Regions from separate parts of the Homo sapiens genome. Here regions 2 and 3 are each linked to region 1. The links are contacts of gene promoters, found by promoter capture Hi-C in blood cells and fetal thymus (Javierre and others, 2016). All regions are on one chromosome and are shown on one strand. The core of a region is centred on a gene start or on the middle of the fragment in contact, and the rest is flanking DNA. Distances in the headings are between cores, read along the strand shown. Region 1 holds the start of EXOC7 (exocyst complex component 7). Region 2 overlaps RNF157 (ring finger protein 157). Region 3 overlaps SRP68 (signal recognition particle 68).

Region 1 (2,582 bases), core at 51-2,550:
GTCCCAGCTGCTAGGAGGCCGAGGCAGGAGGACTGCCTGAGCCCAGGAGTTAGAGACTGCAGTGAGCTACAGTCATGCCACTGCACTCTAGCCTGCACAACACAGCCAGACTCTGCCTCTAAAAAAAAAAATTTAAAAATTAAAATTTTTAGAAAAGGACTAGGACTTTATTATTGTGTGACTAAATGCAAATACAAGTTTGTATTTACTCACTTTGTGCTTTTCCAGTCTCCCCTAGGAATAAAGAAGGAAACTCACTTATTGAGCACCTATTGTATACCAGGCACTGTGCAAGATGCAGTCGCATGCATTAGCGCATATGACCTTCACAGACACACTGGGAGGCTGGCACAGTCTCTGTTTTAGCAGATGAATTCGCTGACACCAGTTACCTATCAGGAGCCGCACATTTAAGCAGAAGGGCAAGGACTAGATCCCAGATCTGCCTGACTTTAGAGCTCTTTCTTTCCCTAAAGTCCTCTGGAGTGAAGGCTGAGTCTTCTCTGCCCTCAGGAATCTCAAAGTGCCAACCTCCTGGGCAGAGAGTCCACTGACAATGACATATGCCCAGTACCTAGCCCAACTGGTCAGACTCACTGAGTGTTTGCAGAAGGAGAGAAGGAAGAATGGCGAGCTTAGACAGAAAGCAGCAAGTCCAGGCCAGTGGGAAGTGCAGCCTCCTCAGTGAGGGTACGGAACATGGGGAGGGGGCTAGGCAGGAGAGATGCCAAACTGTTGCTAGATAAACCCACACACTGCCTCCGTCGCTGCCCATTCCAGAACTCCAGGCCGCAGGAACCGGAACCGCCAGGTCGCAAGGCTCTCCCCCAGGGTCCGGAGGCCTGCCCTCTCCCCCAGCTGCGGGGAGACTCACCATGTTCTTAGTGAGCTGGTCGCTCTTCTCCAGGCTGTCTCGGATGAAGGACAGAGTCTCCTCCTCCTGGGGGCAGGCAAGGGGAGGACATCACCAGAAACCAGAAGCTAAAGGAGACCACTGCGTCCCAACCCCACGGCCTAGCCCCCAACCCCATCTCCTCGCTGGGTGCGCTCCCTCCCACCCCTGCCTCCTCCATGAGTAGACAATCAGGCCCCGCTGTTGGCCCCTTTCCCTCACCTCCTCCCCAGCCTCCCCAGGCCCACGCCCACCTGCTTCAGCTTGTCCTCAATCTCCCGCCGTCGAGCGGATGCCTCCTGTGGGGGAATCATCGCTCTGAACCCCGCGGCTCCCACTCCCCAGTATCTTTCCTCCGCGGGCCCACCGGGCCCCCGTCCCCGTCACACCCACTTCCGCTCTTGGTCCCGCCCCGGGACGCCTGGGCGGAGCCATGTTGGGAATCGCAGGCTGAAGTGCGCCTGCGCGGAGCCCAAGAACGGACCGACGGCCATTTTGAGCGTGGCTGGGAAGAGAAGTGTATTCGGATGCTGCAAGGGACCTCGACGCGGGTTCCTTGCCTCAGCAGAGGTTTTCGATCGGCCTTATGTCCCGCGGCTGGCAGGACACTTAGAGCTCACTTGCTGTTTTCGTTGAAAGACCGACCCTTTTGATAAAGACTGCTGGGGAAGGCGACGAATTCCTTTCCCCAGGTCGCATTCTATGGGCAGGCACCAAGGCCAATTGCGTTTCCCACAAAGCCCCGCACGGAGCAGGTGACACAGTAGATGCCTAACGTGTGTCCATGTAATGAACCAGGGGCTTGTGTACTTGTTTCCGCCTTCCACCCTGCATTACGCAAAAACGTATCCTGTGGGCTGGCGGGGCTGCTCCGGAGCTCCAGGCCCAGACCCAGCGTCCAACTGCAGCTCCAGGGGACGGGGTGGGGGGCGCCCCTGGATCAACTTCCCTGCGGGGCTGGATGTTGTGGTTGCAGACCCAGCTCCTGCAAAACCTCGAGTTACTCCTTCCTCTAACCCGTCCCTGCCCACCCTGCCTCTGGCCCCCAGCCTTGAGAAAGGACAAGGCCGACCAGCTTGGTTCAGTCCTTCTGTGGCCTCAGTGTCCAGACACCCGGAAGATAGACAAGGAGGCATGTGCTGGTAGATGAGAAGGTTTGGGGCGGGCAGGGGGGACACCAAGCTTTTTTTTTCCTTTCTTTTCTTTTGAGAGAGAGTCTCACTCTGTCGCCCAGGCTGGAGTGCAAGTGGCACGATCTTGGCTCATTGCAGTCTCTGCCTCCCGGGTTCAAGTGATTCTCGTGCCTCAGCGTCCCGAGTAGCTGGGATTACAGGCGGCTGCCAACACGCCCGGCTAATTTTTTTGTATTATTAGTAGAGACAGGGTTTCGCCATGTTGCCCAGGCTAGTCTCGAACTCCTGACCTCAAGTGATCCACCCGCCTTGGCCTTCCAAAGTCCTGAGATTACAGGCGTGAGCCCCTGCTCCCGGCCTAAGGAGAGAAGGAGAGAAGGAAGAACCCAAGCTCTAGGGTTCCCAAGCGCTCACTCCACCCATAGTCACCCGAAGAGGAGGAGGAGGAGGAAGTGGGTGCACAGAGCCTGGAGAGGGATGGGCAGCCTTCCCTCAGGCAAGAGGACAATTTCAATCCTGTTGTAGGTGGGGGAGATAAAAGGCTGATTCCTGTGTCA
Region 2 (2,582 bases), core at 46-2,545, 120 kb after region 1:
CTTGCAAGTAGCTGGGATTACAGGCATGTGCCACCAAACCTGGCTAATTTTTGTATTTTTAGTAGAGACGGGGTTTCACCATGTTGGCCAGACTGGTCTCGAACTCCTGACCTCAGGTGATCCATCCGCCTCGGCCTCCCAAAGTGCTGGGATTACAGGCATGGGCCACCATGCTCGGCCAAGGTTCTTTACACATAAACAATACCTGACTCTTCCTTTTCCTGTACTGTAATAGGAAAAAAGAAAGAGGGATAATGAATTGATGATAAAATGCTTAACCATATAAAACCCAAATTTTTTTCTTTCTGACAAACAGGAATTGTAAATCAAACCCCTTAGTCTCAAAAACATTTTGTTTTCCACATAAACGTTAAATATTGTGTTTTACATATCTAGTGGAAGAACCACTAAGTTCAACGTACAGCCTCCCTGTTCAGAATAAAATATGGAATATAATGAAACAAAAAACCAAACAGACTGCACTGCCCAACTTTATATTTTTGGAAACAAAAGCAAAATAACTCTGAACCTCAGTAAAAAATGTTAGAACATGCAGTGTTTTCAACACATACACAATTCATATACAACTTTGCAGAGCACCATCAGAAAGAAGTAAGTATAATAACACAGGGCAAGGCCCACACTGGCCAGAGCAGCTCCAGACACTACTCCTTAACATCTGACTTTATCTTAGTCACTATCAGCACTTTCTGGCTCTACAAGAACTCAGGGCAATGCAAAGGGAACTTGCATTACACTGAGGGAGCCCTACCCTATCAATGGCAATTTTTGAAGCGAAAGCCCAAAATCAATAAATTGACTTCAACAAAGGAAAATCAACTATTTGTTCCTTATAATGTGAACAAAAAAGAAAAATCTCATTTAAAATTCATTGTATTAAATAATTTGCCTAATCATTTTGAATTTAAGTTTTTGGGACATATTCCTAATACCACAGTGAAATTAAATATTGAGCAATGGGTTCCCTAAATTATGTCTGCCTCAATAAGATATTGTGACATTTGTTAGCAAACCACTATGAATTATAACAACATATAATAAAGGACAATTAAACCCATTTTCTATTCTTCTACAATTCTATGGGAATCTATAGGCTATGGGAATCCTAGTAAATTTTCATATATTTGAAAAAATCTTCATCTACATGACATTTCAATAACAATAAGCTTTAGATCACAAAAATAAGAAGAAAACTAGAAAACTGCAAACACCTCTAAATATTCAGCTCAATTCTATAATGCTACAGTGCTGCTTTTGTTCTTCATTTTTAAGTTTTCCCCCTAGAGCAAGGGTGCCTAATCTTTTGACTTCCCTTGGCCACACTGGAAAAAGAAGAATGGTCTTACGCCACACTTGAAATACACTAACACTACTGATAGCTGATAAGCTTTAAAAAAAAAAAAGAAAGAAACTGCAAAAAAACTCATAATGTTTTAAGAAAGTTTACTAATTTGTGTTGCGCTGCATTCAAAGCCATCCTGGGCCACATGTAGCCCAGCCCATGGGGCGTGGGTTGTACAAACTTGCCCTAGAGCATATTTTTAATTATTTAAAAAATTAGGGCTGGGAGCAGTGGCTCATGCCTGTAATCCCAGCACTTTGGGAGGCCAAGGTGGGCAGATCACTTGAGGTCAGGAGTTCGAGACCAACCTGGCCAACATGGTGAAACCCTGTCTCTACCAAAAACACAAAAATTAGCCGGGTATGGTGGCGGGCATCTGTAATCCCAGCTACTTGGGAGGCTGAGGCAGAAGAATCGCTTGAACCTGGGAGGCAGAGGCTGCAGTGAGCCAAGATTGCACTACTGCACTCCAGCCTAGGCAACAGAGTGAGCCTCCATCTCAAAAATATAAAAATAAAAACAAAAATATTACATGTTAGGTGCAATGGCTCACAACTGTAATCCCAGCACTTTGGGAGGCTGAGGTGGGAGGATCACTTGAGCCCAGGAGTTCAAACCAGCCTGGGCAACATAGCAAGACTCCATCTCCACAAAAAGAAAAAGAAATAGAAATACACAATACATGTCCTTTGCCAAAAAAATTAGTATATATAAGTTAATAATTTAAAATTTAACCCTACTCCATAAGAAGTAACTCCACTATTCACAATTGGGTGTGGCCTTCCAGATTTTTTTATACATATACAAATATGTCCAGGTCTTCCTGTTCTATTATTTTTTTTAATTGAATGGACTATTTGAATGCACATATTGTCTGCATAATTGAATGCACATATTGATCTGCAAGTTGCTTTCACCTAATATACTGTAGGCATCTATGTCTGTATTTATGGCATGACCTCATTGTTTTTAGTGGCCAAATAATATGTATTTTTTTCCCTACAAAATAATTTATTGGAACACACAGCTACAGCAGACACTCTATGTACAAGCACGTTGACACTCCTGACCTACCCTCAACTAGGGGACCCTTTTCTTCCCCCTTGCCTTGCGGACCTCTTCTATCAAATCTTTCAGGTACTGGATCTCCTTGGCCAGGGAATCTGCCCTCTCTTTTAGAGCCTCGTTCTTCTTTTCCAGCTCTTTGCACTCGCCAGTG
Region 3 (2,582 bases), core at 83-2,582, 65 kb before region 1:
CCTTCCCTCCCTGCAACTTACTGGGAAAACAAAAGGCACAGCCAAGCCCACAGTGGCATTCTAAAACCACCTTTACAAAAATTCTAACGGTGAGATTATTAGAGTGAAAAAGGTCTAGCCTAACCCACTCCATCTTGCTTCTAACCTCCAAGCTGTCCTTGTTCATTCCTGGGAATAAGCCGAACTCACTTTGGGAGAAGCTTACAGTTTACTGTTTAACTTTGAAACAAAGATGGTAACAGCACTTTCCGGAAATAAACCCCCTTCTTGCCTGGGGCCCAGACTGCCTTTGTAGGACTAACGAATTAGCCACAAAAATTGAAATTATGGTTTAGGAGTCATGCAGCCAGAGGCCCAAGATTCTGAACCTTCCCAGTTGCTCCTAGGGATGACATCACTGTTGTAAAACCTAAGAATGGTGCTCGAGATATTTTTCAGACCCTGCACTTTATGGATCAGCTGGCACCATCCATCCAAACTGGCTCATCTGGTCTTGTAGCCCCCACCCAGGAAACCGACTCAGCACAAGAGGCCAGCTTCAACTCCCTATGACTTCATCTCCAACTCCCTGACTTCATCTCCAACTCCCTATGACTTCATCTCCAACCTGACCAATCAGCACTCCCCATTTCCTGACCCCCTACCCACCAAATTATCCTTAAAATTCCCAGTCTCTGAATTTTCAGGGAGACCAATGTGAGTAATAAACTCCAGTCTCCTGTTTAGACGGCTGTGTGTGAACTAAACTCTCTATTGCAATTCCTGTTTCCATGAATCAACTCCATCTGGGCAGCGGGCAAGAACCCTCGGGGGGTTACAATGCCATCCTGAAACAATGCTCTTGGATTTTTAACCAGTCAGCCTTTTCTTCAAGCCACTGGGTTTGCTCAAAAACGGAAAACATCTAAGCCAACATTTCTTGTGACGAATTTTCTTTCCTATGTGACAGATGAGTTTTGATTTCCAAAGGGAATCGTTAAGTGTCAGGTACATGTTTAAATCACTTTTATTCCTTGCTTTCTTACATTGTTTTTGTGACTTCTATTATTGATGTTATAATAGAAGTGAAAAGGGATGACTAAGGAAAAACGGGGGGTAACGAAGGGGATTAAAATATAATGGCATCTAAAAATTACACATTGGGAAGTCCTGAAAAATAGTGCCTCTAACATGTGTATCTGGCATCAGCCTCACCTAGTTGCCGGTAAGTCAGGTTACACTTGACCTCACCGGCTTCACGCAACTAGGCTCCCGAGGAGAGAACGGGGACTGGACATGAGGGAGGGCATATAAGAAATGGGCACAGTCTCCGTCATCTTTGCCTTTTAATATAAGATTTGGTTTCATCATTTCTGAGTGTAACATATTTCTTCTAAAAATAGAGCTCTCTGCTTGTCTGAAACTTCTTAGCGTTCACTGGGAGGTGAAGGGGAATAAGGCTGACCGTAATTCTGGGGTGACGTTGCCAGTTTCATAGTCATAGATAAACTTCTCAAGGGCTCCTGGATGCTCACAGCAAGGATGAGTTCATTTCAAATCCATGGTACTGAAGAAGCATGACAAAGCGTTTCAAGGCCCCATCTGTGCCTGGTGTGGACTCCTGAACGCATTACTGACCAAAGGCAATCAATCACAGCTCACAGGGCACCAGACAGCAGCGGCCCCTTTCCCAGGAGGTACAGGAGACAGGATGACCCTGCACACATTTACCAGAAGACAACAGGGTGCTCTCCTGACACGCTGCTTAAGAACGTGTACAGACACAAGATGTAGGAATGCAGGGCCGAAGATGTTAAACTCTTGCCCCGGGCCAATGCAGACCTGGATTTAATATCATGGAACTTGCTGGGATTTTCTCACAATACAGATTAAGAGTCAGAATCTCCCCCGCCCCCGAGGAAGAGCCTGGTTAGCTCCTGAATCCAAAGATGCCCTTGATGTATCCAGTGAGGCCACTCTTGGTCTTCTGTTCCAACTTGTCCTCAAGGGGTGGGAAAGCCACATGGTTGAGGGCCAGGTCAAAGAACAAAGGCTTGCAGGGAATGGGCTGGAAGCCTGGTGGGAAGTGCACAAGGTTGGCTTGCTTGGTGACAAGGGAAGGGTCCAGGCAGAATGTCTCAAACCGTTCAACCAGAGGCTGGAAGTCAAATCAAAGAGACGTATGTAGCATCGGTCACAGAACACCCTTGGTGAACATTCCTGAGTGCCGACTGCCTGGTTCAGAGCTTTACAGGGGCCATCTCACTCAATCACTCAATCCCGACAGCCTCCTACGAGGAGGGGCTACCACATCCCTGCCTTGTAGTCAAAGTCACTGAAACCCAGAGAGGCTAAGAGAGTGGCAGGCTAGGACTGGGGTGCAGGCCTGTTGGCCATGTTACGAGTTAGAGCTCTTACCCACGGGTGCTACTCTTTACAGCAACAGGTTCCTCAACCCTCTTCCCAGGGATGATCTGACATCTAGGAAGCTTTATGCAAGAAGCTTTGAGGTTGGGTAAGAGAAGGGAGGGAGGTGGGGGGTTTCCTTAGAAATTTAGGGTCCACTGCTCTATAATGAGCATGCATTCCTAGTTTGTTACTAA

The links. The method cuts DNA at HindIII sites, captures the fragments that hold promoters and counts their contacts. A CHiCAGO score of 5 or more calls a contact.
Region 2: a fragment that was not itself captured here is called in contact with the fragment with the promoter of EXOC7 in region 1 in 3 of 17 cell types (M1 macrophages, endothelial precursors and megakaryocytes); the score reaches 6.4 in M1 macrophages.
Region 3: a contact is called between a fragment that was not itself captured here and the fragment with the promoter of EXOC7 in region 1, in 1 of 17 cell types (endothelial precursors). The highest score is 5.2, in endothelial precursors.

The regions. Positions count from the first base shown.
Region 1 is chr17:76,102,487-76,105,068 of GRCh38, forward strand. It overlaps EXOC7 (exocyst complex component 7), which reads right to left and starts at 1,301. Exons shown (of 19, transcript NM_001013839.4): 1 at 1,147-1,301; 2 at 875-940. The coding sequence starts at 1,206. The HindIII fragment of the contact is 3,319 bases long and covers 1-2,072 here.
Region 2 is chr17:76,223,308-76,225,889 of GRCh38, forward strand. All of the region lies in intron 1 of RNF157 (ring finger protein 157), which reads right to left. It also overlaps the pseudogene ATF4P3. Among named protein-coding and RNA genes, the nearest start is that of RNF157, 16 kb to the right of the region's middle. The HindIII fragment of the contact is 221 bases long and covers 1,186-1,406 here.
Region 3 is chr17:76,037,797-76,040,378 of GRCh38, forward strand. It overlaps SRP68 (signal recognition particle 68), which reads right to left. Exons shown (of 16, transcript NM_014230.4): 16 at 989-2,137. The coding sequence ends at 1,910. Among named protein-coding and RNA genes, the nearest start is that of EVPL, 12 kb to the left of the region's middle. RefSeq lists an enhancer at 2,362-2,582. The HindIII fragment of the contact is 2,268 bases long and covers 199-2,466 here.